Regions from separate parts of the Homo sapiens genome. Here region 1 is linked to region 2. Evidence: promoter capture Hi-C in 16 types of primary human blood cells and fetal thymus (Javierre and others, 2016). All regions are on one chromosome and are shown on one strand. The core of a region is centred on a gene start or on the middle of the fragment in contact, and the rest is flanking DNA. Distances in the headings are between cores, read along the strand shown.

Region 1 (7,726 bases), core at 852-3,351, about 57 Mb before region 2:
TATGTTCAAGAAGCTAGAGAAAAAATTGAACACATTAAGTATAGACATGAAAGATACAATAAAGCCCCAAATCAAACTTCTAGAGGTGAAAAATTCATCTAAAATGAAAAATATACTGGAAGAGATTAACAGCAGATTAGATGCTGTGAGATGAAAAGACTAATGAACTTAAAGACATCAAAATAGAAACTGTCCTAAATGAAACACCAAGACTTCAAAAACAGAATGAAAAATATACTGGATGAGATTAACAGCAGATCAGATACTATAAAAGAAAAGATTAATGAACTTGAAGACAAACAGAAATTGTCCAAAATAAAAGACCAAGACTTCAATAACAGAATGAAAAATATACTGGATGAGATTAACAGCAGATCAGATACTATAAAAGAAAAGATTAATGAACTTTAAGACATACAGAAATTGTCCAAAATAAAACACCAAGACTTCAAAAACAGAAAAACAATCAGTAAGCTGTGGGACAACTTGAAGAGCTCTGATACATGTATATACATTATCATTATACACATTCCACAGGTATTATTTCCCAAGTCCTTAAAGGAGAGGAGAAATAAGCGAGACAGAAAAAAAAATGCTTTAGAAATAATGGCCAAAAATTTTCCAAGTTTAGTGAAAACCATACACCCACAGAGCTAGGAAACTCAATAAATCCCAATTACATGAAATGTGAAAATGACTCCAAGGCACATCAAAATCAAATTGTTTTAAAAAATGAGAATACACTGAAATAAGCAAATATATATATATGTATATATATACACATTATATGCATAAGAACAAAGATAAGAGTACATTTGGCATGATTCTATTTTTACAAAACTCTAGAAAAAGTAAACTAACATATGGTGACAGACAGCAGATCAGAGGTTTCCTCAGGATGGAGAATGGGGTGAAGAGAAGCAGGAGGATGAGATTATAAAAGGTAAAAAGTTTCCTTTTCATCGCTTTTGTACGTCAGCTCACCTGAGGTGCTGCTGGGAGCAGTGAGGCTCCGAGGTCCTGGTCTCTGATCAGCCTTTCCTCCAGTCGGGCAGGCTGGGAGGCAGCCAGGGCTGAAGTGAGGAGAGGAAGTTTTCAGAATCTGGATGTCTTCCTTAACCACTCCCCAGAGGGCGCAGATAACAATCTTCACAAATCAGAACAATACCTGAACAATACCTGTACTGCCATCTATATTTCAAGACTTGTGTTTATCTCCCTGACACACTCCAACCCCCTCCAACATTCCAGTCTCACCCATATGTTCTCCCACCTCCTTCCTCAGAGCCAAAATCCAAATGGTCTGGCCCAGTCATAAAGCAGTTTAAAACACAGACTTTGACTCTCCAAACAAGAGCGGTTTATTTAGGTCTAACCTGTTTGCAAACCTCTCAGGGATACGCCAATCTGAGCAGCATACCATTTCAACTCACTTAGGCCTACTAATCACAATCCCAAAATCTCTCCAAGAGAACACCACACAGCACCATCCTCACCTAGTTCTGCTTCTGTGTCAGATTCCTCTTTCACGATGTGGCTCAGAAGCTCCCCAGGCCCTGAGGATGAATTCTCAAGTCCCAACTCCTGAGGCACCACTTCAAGATGGGGCTCCACTTCCCCCACTTGGCAGCTTGGAGATTCCATCTTCTCTGATAAGATGTCCTGTCCTAGAACCTGGATACTGATCTAGAGACCATATATTAATTAGTAATTACTGAAGAATCCAGAGTAAGGATCTCTAAAAGACACAAAGCTTACTCTCTACAACAGATCATAAGACAATTTCTAAGGATGTGGAGAAAGAGAAAACCAGCTTTTATTTCTAGTCCAGCAGGAACCAGGGAAAGAAACGTCCCAAAAGACACCAAAAGCTGAGGCCCGAATCAGGCGTGGGAGACCTTCAAGACATGCCACTAACGTGCTTCTACTGGATATGCGCCACCAATGAAAACTCAGGCATCTTTTAAATAACTTCTCAAACATTCTAGTCTAAAGGTGGAATGCGCTGGGAGACTTTACCCTCAATCCTCAATAGCTAAAGAGTGTTGAGAGTCAGAGAGTGTTAGAATTACGTGAGGTATGGGGGAACCCAGCTGTGGTATAATAAGAAATACACATTTAGTCTTTGTCCCCAGTTCCCATTCCCGCAGAGCTCCTAAAACCCTGGTAATTTCTTGAGGGACAGGTGAAAGAAGAGTCTTTGTTATTCATAAGGAGCCCTTCTCAACCACACCTGAGTTTATGCTAGGCTCCTAGATAGCTTCAGGATGGGGGCTGGTTGCCAGAGGAACCAACCTTGAGATTAAAAGGTTGGAACTTTCAGTATCTCCACCCAGCTTCTGAGGAGGGGAGGGCAGCTGGAGATACTCAATCACCAACGGCAAATGACTGTATCAAGTGTGCCAAAGCAGTGAAGCCTCCATAAAAATCCCTAAACCATGAGGTTCAGGAAGCTTCCAGGTTGGTGACCTCATGGAGGTACTGGTAACGTAGCACGCCAGGAGAAGCATGGAAGCTCCACGCTCTTTCCCCCACACCTTGCTCTATGCAGCTCTTCTCTCTGGCTGTTAATGAGTTGTATCCTTTAGAGTAAGTCAGTAACAGGAAGTAAAATCCTTCCCTGAGTTCTGTAAGTCATTCTAACTAATTATCAAACTTGAAGAGAAGACTGTGGGAACCTCCGAATTTATAGCCAATTTGTCAGAAGTACAGGTGGCCCCTGGGACTTGTGACTGGCATCTGAGAACAGGAGCAGTCTTGGATTGAGCCCTGAACCTCCAGAGTTAGCTTCAGAACTGAATTGCTGGACACTGTACTGGTGTTAGAGAATCACAGAATTGGCCATTGGTGTGAAAAGCCCCACCCATTTTGTGTCATAAGTGGTATCAGAAAAAAGACAACACACCTGATGGGACCAGAGAGGAGCCCTGTGTTTCACTCGCAGATCATAATACCCTCTGCTTACCCATTGCCACAGTCTCTGGGGGTCCCCCTTCAAGCTTTCCACAAGGGTCACTGCCTCTTCTCCACTTCCTGGACACTGTTTCCGCACCCACATCTGGATCTCCCCAGGCAGGATGGTCAGAAACTGCTCCAACATGAGGATCTCTAGGATCTGCTCTTTGGTGTGAACCTCTGGCTGTAGCCACTGGAAACAGAGCTTCCGAAGTTGCTTCAAGGTCTCATGAGGCCCAGACATCACCTGGTAACGGAACTGCCTGAAAAGCTGGCGTGCGGTCTCAGGGCTGGAGAGTTCCTCTTGAAGGGCAGCATCTGATTCTGAGAACTGGGAGTCCTCGGCCTTCGCCAGCGATGGCAGCAGGCCTAGGGCCTGCCCCAAGTCAACGGGCATTGTCCAGCCTGGCAAGTCCTTTTAAGTAAAGTGCTTCTGCAGTGGAATTGTCTCCGGCAAGAACTAGGTCTTCACCAGGACACTAAAAAGGGAATGAGATTGAGTGCTACACAGAGGAAGGGGACACATTTTCAGAAAGAACAAATTCACATGCCCTACCCGAGAAGCCATGGGGTCAACTATGGAGCTTTTGAAATTGCTCAATGGATACACGATTCTATTTTGAAAGATTATAAACTTGAAGCCACAAAGCAAACTACTGATACTGTATCTAAACAGCCACCATTTCCCTGCCCATTTTATAATGTTCTTTCTTGGTCTTCAAATGTCCAGACAAAATGAAGAATAAAATGCACCATACGAAACTTTTTCACTATAGGTTTCCAGGTAAACGGCTCTTCTACAAAACACTTCTACATCTTCATCTATATATCTGCATACTAAAAAATAAAGCTGGAAAAAGATATTAATGCCCTAGGAATAAAAGCTAATGCCTACATGCTTCTGTAATAAATAGGAGGTTAAAGAGAACAAGTTAAGTCTTCCAAAAGGTACCAAAAGTACTTCCAAAAGTATACCAAAAAGGTGTAATGAAACTTCCAAGAGAGGTCTTTTGAGTGCCATATTAAAATAGGTCTATTTGAGAATTTATGAAAAAAACAAGTATCATACCTGACACTTTCAACCTTGGGGTTAAAGAGGGTGAGAAGGCTGGGCATGGTGGCTCACGCCTGTAATCCCAGCACTTTGGGAGGCCGAGGCAGGTGGATCACGTGGTCAGGAGATCGAAACCATCCTGGTTAACACGGTGAAACCCCGTCTCTACTAAAAAAAAATACAAAAAATTAGCCGGGCATGGTGGCGGGCACCTGTAGTCCCAGCTACTCAGGAGGCTGAGGCAGAAGAATGGGGTGAACCCAGGAGGTGGAGCTTGCAGTGAGCCAAGATCGCGCCACTGCACTCCAGCCTGGGGGACAGAGAGAGACTCCGTCTCACAAAAAAAAAAAAAAAAAAAAAAAAGAGGGTTGAGAAGACTAACTACCTTGAAAATACTCCTATGGTGTTGATATAAATAATCACTATTTTATGTGAATGGTATCAAATTTTAGAAGATCACAACTAAGACAGTAGAAAGAGAAATATTAAATCGCAAATAATATTATTCTAAAAAGGATCATCCACTACTTCTAGTTAACTTTCTTGCAAGTAATCACAATATAGGATTACTGGGTAAATCCTTAAATGTTATGAAGAATTTGGTGGTCATCATTTCTCCCTAAGACTAATCACAGCAATTTTTAAAAAAAGATACCCCATCACTTGAGGATCTGGCTTAATCAGAGATCAGTACAATACTCTAGCTTTTTGTAGCTGCTTATTTCTTAAGGTGTAGGAAACAATGTCTTCATCCTTACCGTTTCACCAAAATAATTTATCCGACATTGGAAAATCATTTAAAAACTAAAAAAGAAAAACAATTTTTTTTCAAGGGCCTGAGAAAGGAAAAAGCGAAGTCAAAAGAATTACAGTTGACCATTGAATAATGCAGGAGATAGGGGCGCCAACCCCCCACACAGTAGAAAATCCATATATAACTTCTGATTCCCCAAAAGCTTAGCAGTCTATTGACTGATGCCTTAAATAGTTGATTAACATACATTTTGCATGTTACTGTATTTTTGTGATAAAGTAAGTTAGACAAAATATTATTAAGAAAATTATAAGGAAGAGGCCAGGCCAGGTGGCTCACGCCTGTAATCCCAGCACTTTGGGAGGCTGAGGTGGCTGGATCACAAGGTCAGGAGATCGAGACCATCCTGGCTAACACGGTGAAACCCCTTCTCTACTAAAAATACAAAAAATTAGCCAGGCGTGGTGGCGGGCGCCTGTGATCCCAGCTACTCGGGAGGCTGAGGCAGGAGAATGGCATGAACCTGGGAGGCAGAGCTTGCAGTGAGCTGAGATCGTGCCACTGCACTCCAACCTGGGCGACAGAGCGAGACTCCGTCTCAAAAAAAAAAGAAAAAGAAAATTATAAGGAAGAGAAACTACATTTACTATTCACTAAGTGGAAGTGAATCACCATAAAGGTGGTCACCTTCATCATCTTCACACTGAGTAGCCTGAAGAGGACAAGGAACAGGAGAAGGAGAAGGAAGGGTTGGTCTTGCAGTCGCAGGAGTCACAGAGGCAGATGAAAATCCTTGTATAAATGGACCCTTGCAACCGTAATCCAATACCAAATGTTTTTTATGTGGTCCTCATTAAATTTATTTTTTGCTTAAAAAGAAACCCAGGTCTGAGCGCAGTGGCTCACGCCTGTAATCCTAGCATTCTGGGCGTCCAAGGCAGGGGGATCATTTGAGGTCAGGAGTTCAAGACCAGCCTGTCCAACATGGCAAAACCCCATCTCTACTAAAAATACAAAAATTAACCGGGCGTGGTGGTGAATGCCTGTAATCCCAGCTACCAGGGAGGCTGAGTGAGGCAGGAGAATTGCTTGAACCCAAGGGGGCAGAGGTTGCAGTGAGCCGAGATCACACCACTGCAAGAAAAAAAAAAAGAAACCCAGGCCAGGCGCGGTGGGTCACGCCTGCAATCCCAGCACTTTGGAAGCCCTAGGCGGGAGGACCACCTGTGGTCAAGAGTTTGAGACCAGCCTGGCCAACGCAGTAAAACCCCATCTCTACTAAAAATACAAAAATTAGCTGGGCATGGTGGTGCGCACCTGTAATCCCAGCAACTCAGGAGGCTGAGGTAGGAGAACAGCCTGAACCTGGGAGGCGGAAGTTGCAGTGAGTCAAGATCGTACCACTGCACTCCAGCCTGGGCGACAGAGGGAGACTCCATCTCAAAAAAAAAAAAAAAAAGAGTCAGTGAAGTCAAAAAATCTGAACACTATCAACCGACTTGCTCTAATTGACATTTTCAGAACACTAGACCCAAGAACTGCAGAGTATACATTCATTACAAGTGCAAAGAGTATTCATCAAAACAGACCATATGCATAATTTTCAAATGACTGATATCTTAAAATTAGCTCTAAAAATATTACGCAAAGTGGTATTGCTAAAAAGCCATTAAAGCAATACCAAAAAACACTCAAAAACCCAATATCTGATAGAAAAGGAACACAAGAGAAACAAAACCAGAAAGGTCAAATGGAAAACTTTAGAGCTTCCTGGGTTCAAATATATTCTCTGATCATAGTGCAATTAAAGTAGAAATCAATAACAATAACTAGAAAATCCCAATTTATGGAAATTACTAAATAATGCTCTTAACCCATAGTCAAAGAAAAAAATCACAAAGGAAATTAAAATATGTTTTCATACTGAGTGACAATGACAGCATTATCAAACCACCTGAAAAGCAGCTTTAGCTCAGAGGTAAACCTACAGTTTCAAATAACATCTTAAAAAACGAATAAATATATTTTTAAAAATACCTTGCTTTGTAAATCCAACCTATTTGGCTCAAGAGTTTCAAATAACAAGCGGCAAGATTTTAGATAGCAAGATACCGACCTGTAAACTTACTGCAATTTATCTGTTTCCTAAATTAAGATAGCAGTTTAGATAATATTTAAGAGAAATGACATTTTGGAAAAACTACAGATTTTATAAAATACTTAAATCTTTTGTTAGTAATATTATACTCCCAGGTAGTGTGTAAGAAAAATGTCTCGATTATTCAAAATTAAATTACTTTATATAGTATTAAAAATTTAATAGAGTTTATATTCCGATAACCTCATGAGGAACTGCCCCCATTAGTTATGAAAAAAAAATAAGGTTGTCTGTTATACCTGTTATTAAACCTTTAACAAATAGAATGAATTTTTAAAAGTGCATTCTAGGTGTAATATACACAAGTGGTTACATACATGGTTACATATATAAGTAACCATTTGTTAAGCACCTACTACGTATCGGCTCATTATTAAGCTCGGTTCATGTATTTCCAATTCCCACAATTACCCTGGTGTACAGATCAGGAACCTCCGAGGCTCACAAGTGGCAGCCAGATTAACCCAGGAAGCTCTAAAGCCTTTGCTTTGGGGAGAACTGCCAACGTCTGGTGATTTGTTGGGGCGTTTTCTGGTTGTCACAAGCAGCTAGGGGAACTGGCATTTAGTGCTCGAGGCCAGGGCAGCGCTGCTCATTGGATATGTATTCTCCACCATGCGCCCCCCAAATGCCGACTGCACTCTGATGAGAGAGGGAGAGACTCCAGGCATCATCCCATCGGGTTTCCTCTTCCAGAGACTCATTTTCAGCCCTTAGGGGAAGACAGCGGGGAGGAGCCCGTTTTCGGTCCCAGTGCAGAGACCCGGCCGGTCCCGCGGGGCGCAGAGGCGCAGGAATGCAGAGC
Region 2 (7,523 bases), core at 1,918-4,417:
TGCAAAGCCAAGGTGGGTGGATCACTTGGGGTCAGGAGTTTGAGACCCCCTGACCAACACGGTGAAACACTGTCTCTATTACAAATGCAAAAATTAGCTGGGTGTTGTGGTGAGCTCCTGTAACATCAGCCATTCGGGAGGCTAAGGCAGGAGAATCGCTTGAACCTGAGGGGTGGAGGTTGCAGGGAGCCGAGATTGCGCCACTGCACTACAGCCTGGGTGACAGAGCGAGGACTCATCTCAAAAAAAAAAAAAAAAAAAAAAAAAAAAAAGATGGGGGATTTAAAACAGAAGCATGGGCCACCTGAAGATGAACACTTGATGTGCATATAAAAGGAGACACCTGCCAGAATTCACTCCTGCCTTCTTACGCCACAATGGGGAGGATTCTCCTCCTAGTACCAATGATACCACGAAGACTGGCAGGAAGAAGAGCACAGGTACCTCCTCTTCCACCACCCACGTATGTGGGAGAGGAAACTTTTGAACACCAAGGCAGGAAGAAGAACTTTTTCTTCTGGGAACCAAGACTTCACAGAGAGGTTGAGTTCCCTGTCATCCCAATTTCCTACTTGAAATTCAGGATACATTTTTCCCAGAAAGAAATATGATACAAAATTTTGCTATTTTTAAACGGATGATTCAGCCAATTTATGGATGAGAGGTGTTTTGTGTATGCATGTGTGCTTGTGTGTGTATATTAGCTGCTGAACATATTGTTGGTGCTATGGGAAAATGAATTGCAGATTGACTTTCAAGCTACAATCCATTTGCCAGCTGTGGACTCCGCACGCCTATGCAGAGAAAGTAAGAGCAGTAATGACAGTGGCAAAATGCACCAGACAAGTTGTGATTAGAACTCTTCCATAAAGAAGGGAGTCTGGGGCTACTTAAGAGCAATGCAGCTGACCACATAAAATGCAAATTGAAGCAAGCTCTAGGTGGCTGTTCAGGCCCTGCCTGGGCTAAGCCAGTTTACAGAAAGCTCCAGCAGCTATCCCAGGGCCTGGCTCCATCAGTGTTTGGGAAAGTGAACTAGATTTTCACACGTGTCTCCTGGTTAAATGAGACTTAGGAAACCATGCTGGTTTGAGGGGGTGCTGAGCTTGTGTGTATACGATAGGAGGGAAGGGACAACATGGATTAGCCTAGAAGGACAATAAAAGAGTTAGAAAGTCCTTGCACCTGTGTTCACAGACCAGCAATGCCTTCCTCTTAGGGGCAGAAGCTAATATGGAGATTAGATTGCCTTCACTAATTGTCAAGAATGTCAGTAAAGGGGACCAACTTAAGTAAATTAATGTTAGTCTCACAACCTATTGCATATTTAAGATTTGATTTGCTGGTTTGCAGCTGAAATAAGACGGCTTCCTTCCCTCTAATGCATCCCTTATGCAGATGGTCCTGGCTTCCAGCATCCTAAATACAATTCCAATAGTTTTCATTAGTAATCATCAAATCTAGCTGAATCTTCTTTCAAAGTGCCTCTTTTTGCCTTTCACTACTGACCTAACCTATCTCTAGCCTCTCCCAGTTCCAACCCACCTTGATTGCTGAGGGCAAATTTACTTTCTTAAAACAATGCTTGGATTAAGTTACGCCCCTTTGCAAGACCCTTTCACCTCCCCGCAAGTACCTGCAGAATAAAGTCCAAACCTCTAGCCCACCTTTTAAGGCCCTGTGGAGTCCTCACCTGTAAATCTCCCCCGCCCTCACCACTCCTGCACACAAGGCAACAAGGTCTCCTTGGCAGCTTCTGAGTAAGGTTGTCCTTATTTCTGCCACAGTGCTTTGTCCACACCTCCTTGAATTCCTCAATTCCTCCCTCTGTCTTAAAAGAACATTTCTGAGTCTGTCTGCTCCATGAAGTATAAGTCCGAGCTCATTTTTGCCCATGCCCTGCTCACTCCTCTCCATTCCTTGCAGTGAATTGTGCTAAGCATCTCTGGCTTCCTTGTGAAAAAGGTGATGCCGTTCTCCATCAGGGTGCTGTGTACCCACTATGTGTGAGCGGTACAGAATGAATGAACATCCCAGGGCCCTAGAAAGGCGCCTGGCACATCCTGGACACTCAACAAGTATCTTTTAATTTTAATGAATAAATTCAAGATATTCGACTGTATTCATTTTCCACCCACTTTCCCCCTAGGCCAGGGACTCTCCTCCCAGGTGAGAAAAAATCATCTAGATACCTTAATTTTGATAAAGTTAGCGTTGATGTATAAAAAGCAGAACTTCCTCTGTAACCCTGTGAGAAATGAGAAGCCTCCAATCTTCTTCCCCACACCTACCCCCTACTGAGTTTCGGGTTCCTTGGAAATAACTGACCTGGATTGTTTCTGACAAAATAAAACTTTGCATCTTCTCCACAGAGCAAAGGTAACCTTACCTCCAGCCAACCCAATCATCCATACATTTTTCTTACTAGAAAAAATGTTTTTAAAAATGGAGGTGTGGCCGGGCGCGGTGGCTCACGCCTGTAATCCCAGCACTTTGGGAGGCCGAGGTGGGCGGATCATAAGGTCAGGAGTTCGAGACCAGCCTGGCTAAATGTTGACACCCCGTCTCTACTAAAAATTAGCCGGGCGTGGTGGCGCATACCTGTAATCCCAGCTACTTGGGAGGCTAAGGCAGGAGAATTGCTTGAACCCGGGAGGCGGAGGTTGCAGTGAGCAGAGATCGCGCCACTGCACTCCAGCCTGGGCGACAGAGCGAGACTCCCTCTCGGGAAAAAAACAACAACAACAACAACAAAAAAACCCCCAAACAAACAAAAAACGGAGGTGTGAGGGTAAAACGTCTACAGGCAAGAACAGCACAACAGGTGCTGAGCTGCAAAATCAACACACTAAACTCCCAAACAGACCTTCTCGACAAGCCAAAAGCTCTTTAGCTAACCTAATATTCTTTAGCTGTTGTTTCAGAGGCTTTTCGAGAACAAAACTGCCGCCCCGTCTTGGCCTTGCCGCTTTTCACCCATCACTCTACTGAGTGTGTGTCTGACTTGTTTATCTGGACGCAATCTTTGTCGCACCCAGTTATCTCGCTCAGCGACCGGGGCGACCACGTTTCCTTAAATCAGAGCCCCGTGGACTCCGCCGGAGAACTACATTACCCAGCGGCCTTCGCGCCCTTCGCAGGAAGGACGTCTGCGCACTAAGATACTCAGTTCCAAGTTTGGAGCTTTTAGCTGCCAGCCCTGGCCCATCATGTAGCTGCAGCACAGCCTTCCCTAACGTTGCAACTGGGGGAAAAATCACTTTCCAGTCTGTTTTGCAAGGTGTGCATTTCCATCTTGATTCCCTGAAAGTCCATCTGCTGCATCGGTCAAGAGAAACTCCACTTGCATGAAGATTGCACGCCTGCAGCTTGCATCTTTGTTGCAAAACTAGCTACAGAAGAGAAGCAAGGCAAAGTCTTTTGTGCTCCCCTCCCCCATCAAAGGAAAGGGGAAAATGTCTCAGTCGAAAGGTAAGAGGCTGTTTGCATTAGTTGCAAAAATGCAAAGGGTTGTGCATGCATTTATGAATGCATGGATGCAATTTTCGCCTGGCGAGTGCATTTTTAAGTTTGAGGTTTTCCACAGCTCAGTTGCATTTCCTGTTTAGTATGTGTCTTTTTTTGCAGACACAGAGAGTTCCTGTAAGGCAGGGCTTGCAGTTCAGCTGTGCATTGACGTTATTTGCATTCTTCTGCTAGGATTACTGAGCTCTTTTTGCCTTTTGCACAGTCAGGAGAGACAGAGCAGGTTGGTAGCGTCTAAATGTGCAAGGCTTTATATAATTGTAAAATTCTTTACTATGCACAGATATTGTAAGTAATTTTGTATGCAACAGGAATAGAAACTTTTAAAAACTCTATAGGTGAAGATGAAAGGTAAAACTTGAGTTAAACTACTAGGAAATTAATGTAATCTTATATTCTTTGGGGGAAATAGACCGTTGCGGTGCCAGTATTTAGCTAAATTTCCATTGATATCGCCTTGAACATTAGGTAACTTTTGATTTTTAAAGGAAGTAAAGGTGAAGGGTGAATAACAGCATATCACAAAAAAGCAGACGAGTCTTGCTCTTCTGAGATTTTGCACTTTACACCAATTGCTTATTGGCTCGCAAAATTTAGAAGCAGCAGTGAAGACCTAATGTTTTATGTCTGCCCATTTGGGGGATGCTTTGCATCTTGGGGGAAAATATTGGGGGTAAAACTGTACTTTTAAGCATTACAGTAGTGTGAAGGGACTGCACTGTTTCATTGACAAGCATAATGAAATATTTTAAGTGTGTAACTGCGTGTATTTAGTCAGCTGTAATAGGTTGGAAGTTCACGTTATGGTTGTTTTCTTTATGTTCTTTTATTTTCTTTTCTTAATTTTTGTTTTTAAACACAGTTGTATTTTGCAGGCTTAATGTCACCCTGGGAAGGGGATTTAAAAAATTCCTGATATGACATCAAAGAGCAGACTAGGTGCTGTCAGGTGCCCCTGGGACCCCAAGTCACTTGTTTCAGAACAATTGTTTCTTTACCATAGAGAAAGCATATGCCATATGAGAAGTATGGGATGATGAAGAGAGGTGTTAGATACTATTGAATTAGGCTACCCGGGGCACTCTTTGAGTAAGACATGGTGAAATTAAAGGGTCTAACAAGCTTTTTGCTACTTTTTTGGGAGGGAGTGTGGGGAGTTGTTGCACCGCTTTTTAATTCTACCTGATGGGAGTCATATATCTCAGCAGCCCAAGAAGGAAGTAGTAATCTCAAGCATTCAAAGTAGCACTCTGCTTTTCTTTGAGTATTAGGGGAGAATGGAAATCTGAAAAGTTAAGAGTGCTGAAGAACCTAGGAATTGACATATCAGGTGGAGATGTTCCTCAAGTGGGGAAAACCTAAAAATCTCCTTATTGAGTAGAGAAATAATAGTTCAGAAGAGGCAGTCCATGCTTTGATGTATTAAAGAGATGGCATTTAGTTACTTTGTATTTGGTAAACATTCGCTCATTCATTCAATTCAGTTTAATATATGTGTAATATATTGTGATATGCATGTATATACATATGTATGTGTGTATATATATGCATGTATATGTATGTATTGTGTGTGTATGTGTGCACATGATTTAGGGACACACAAAAATATTTAAAATGAAGTTTTTCCTTCGGGTTGGTGAAAACAAGAATGTAAGGAAATCATTATAATACAAGATAATAGGACAGGTATTGAAGAGAAATGGTGCTATTGGAGTTTAAAAATGGAAGTGATTTATCTATTTGGGGGATAGTCAGGAAGGTTTATGAAGAGGGTGGTGTTTACTGTGATCTTATCTTTGGACTTTAGGGTCTAAACTAAATCAGGCTCCTTTTTGCATATTTTTGGGCTCACTATGAACGTGGCTCCCTCTTAGTAGAGCCAGTTTTTGAGTTGAGAAGCCAAAGGAGATATTAGCACTGCACTCTTCCCTATGGATGTGTTTACAATGGATCAGGTACTGGTGGTCCTTCAAATCAATTCCCATTTACCCAGATGAGTTTTCTTAATTGGATTCTGCTTGGAAAGTACATCTGGAATGAACATGGGGTTCTTGTCCGAAAGGAAAATTATTGGTAGAAAGAAGTGGGTGATCATTTTAGAAATGGCAAAAGAGCCAGCCGCCTTGGCCTGGACTTTAAATGTGGAATTGGCCTTATTCAGCTACGCTATTCTCAAATGGCCAAAATACTTTTTGCAGTACCAAACTTCTTTTTTAATATTCTAACCCAAGAAATGGGAGGAAAAGTGAAAAGTGGATACAATCTCATAGTATTGAAGAATTTAACAATATGTTCAATTCAAGGACCTTTACGAACTTTCTAGATCACTATAATTCGGTTTAACAGACCTCTAATTTAAGGCACAGCAGAGGCAAAGGAATTACAGACTCTCTGGAAGCTGGAAGGACTGGGTTACTGCTCTACAGCCTTACCAACAGTGAGATTCCGAGAAAGAATTTCTTAAAAAGAAATTTTGTTTTCCACAGTTGTAACTTTAGGTGGTATGCTTTTCAGCTTGTTTATATTAGCTGTCTGGGGTTGAGTTGACATTTTTCAAATATTAAAGCAGTAGAATGCCTTTTGAGGAAATCTGAAATGTAAGTTAACAGGAAGGGCACCCAGAAAGTGCAGGAATTCCTGCACACTACAGGAAGACAAGCTACAGGAAAAATGTGTCATCTACACTACCCGGGAGAGAAAAACTATTGTTATCAGCCATAATGATCTCCGGAGGGAGGGAGAGAAAGAGGGAGGTAGGGAGATCTGGCATCCCCCAGTTCACCTGAAAATACACAAAAAGTTTGACCCTGTTAAAATACACTTTTCTCACTTCTCCTCCTATTCACCTTTAAAAAATATTAGTTTATTTTAGTTTTAGAGAGCAATAAGTAAATCATGTAAGAAATGCCTATGAGGCACAATTCAGAAGCATATAGCAGAGTGGTAGGAAAGGTCTTAACTCTACTGGGGTTCTTTGCTTCTGTAATTCATTCCACCCTTGGGAAATGAAATGTGTAAATTTCTTGTTCTCTATAAATTCCTTTGTTAGGTTGTACCAGACGGACTTGTCATGCTTAGCCTGTAATCTGAGCCAGTATGTTTTATAACCCCGTACATCTCAGGACACAAAATCAGAATAGGTAGCTTGGGTTTCCTGAGCTTGCTTTGTATTAGCATTGCATTCAGTTCTTTAGAGCATGCGGCCTGTTAACTGTAGGGGGCTTCAGGGGTCTCTGGTTGGTAAATTTAATGTTGGAGAAAAGAGTTGAGATTCTCTTGTCTTTGTTTTTCAGATTAGTGTTACTTTAATGACTCCCCAGTATTTTAAAATCTGAAAGATCTACAAGGAATATTTTTAAAACTTAAAAGAAATTTCATAAATAACCCTTGTTCATTATAGAAACATTTCATAGAAAAGGAAAAATAAGAATGACTAGTTACTGCAGTCTACACTTTGGCATTTATTCTCTTGGACTTTTTTTTTCTATCTATGTGTATGAAGCATCCAAAATGTGTGTAAAACTAAGTCTATTTCGTTCCCTCTTGTTTCACTTACCAATATATGGCAAAATATTCCCAAGTTTATATATTTCTACATTCATAGTATCCTCTTCCATTGTATTTATTTAAATAGAATCTTAATGTTTATTAACTTTCACTATTGTGAATATTTCCGTGATGATCATACCAGTTCCTACATTATCATGCATACTATGCCCTTAGATTAAATTCCAGGGAGCAAAACCACAGGCTTTGAATGTCCAGTTCTTCTTCACTCTCCATTCTCTTTTCTTCCTTCTGAAAATAGCTTTTTATTATTGCAAAAAAAAAATGACATATGCTAATCAAAAAATTCAAACCAAAGATAAATTCACAATAAGAATATAAAACTCACTCAAAGTCATACCACCCAGAGCTAATTACTGTTAGTTTTTTGGGTACTATCTCCATATTTGTATGTACATGTTATTTTACACACTATATATTGTATTTTGTAA

The links. Contacts are between HindIII fragments. The CHiCAGO score rates a contact against its expected background, and 5 or more counts as called.
Region 1: a contact is called between a fragment that was not itself captured here and the fragment with the promoter of MAP2K6 in region 2, in 2 of 17 cell types (total CD8 T cells and total CD4 T cells). The highest score is 11.2, in total CD8 T cells.

Annotation. Positions count from the first base shown.
Region 1 is chr17:11,989,478-11,997,203 of GRCh38, forward strand. It overlaps ZNF18 (zinc finger protein 18), which reads right to left. Exons shown (of 7, transcript NM_001303281.2): 2 at 2,966-3,434; 3 at 1,497-1,686; 4 at 985-1,073. The coding sequence starts at 3,352. Among named protein-coding and RNA genes, the nearest start is that of ZNF18, 4.1 kb to the right of the region's middle. RefSeq lists an enhancer at 1,814-2,468 and a silencer at 7,697-7,726. The HindIII fragment of the contact is 700 bases long and covers 1,752-2,451 here.
Region 2 is chr17:69,411,530-69,419,052 of GRCh38, forward strand. MAP2K6 (mitogen-activated protein kinase kinase 6) reads left to right here and starts at 3,168. Exons shown (of 12, transcript NM_002758.4): 1 at 3,168-3,471. The coding sequence starts at 3,456. The HindIII fragment of the contact is 8,167 bases long and covers 1-4,645 here.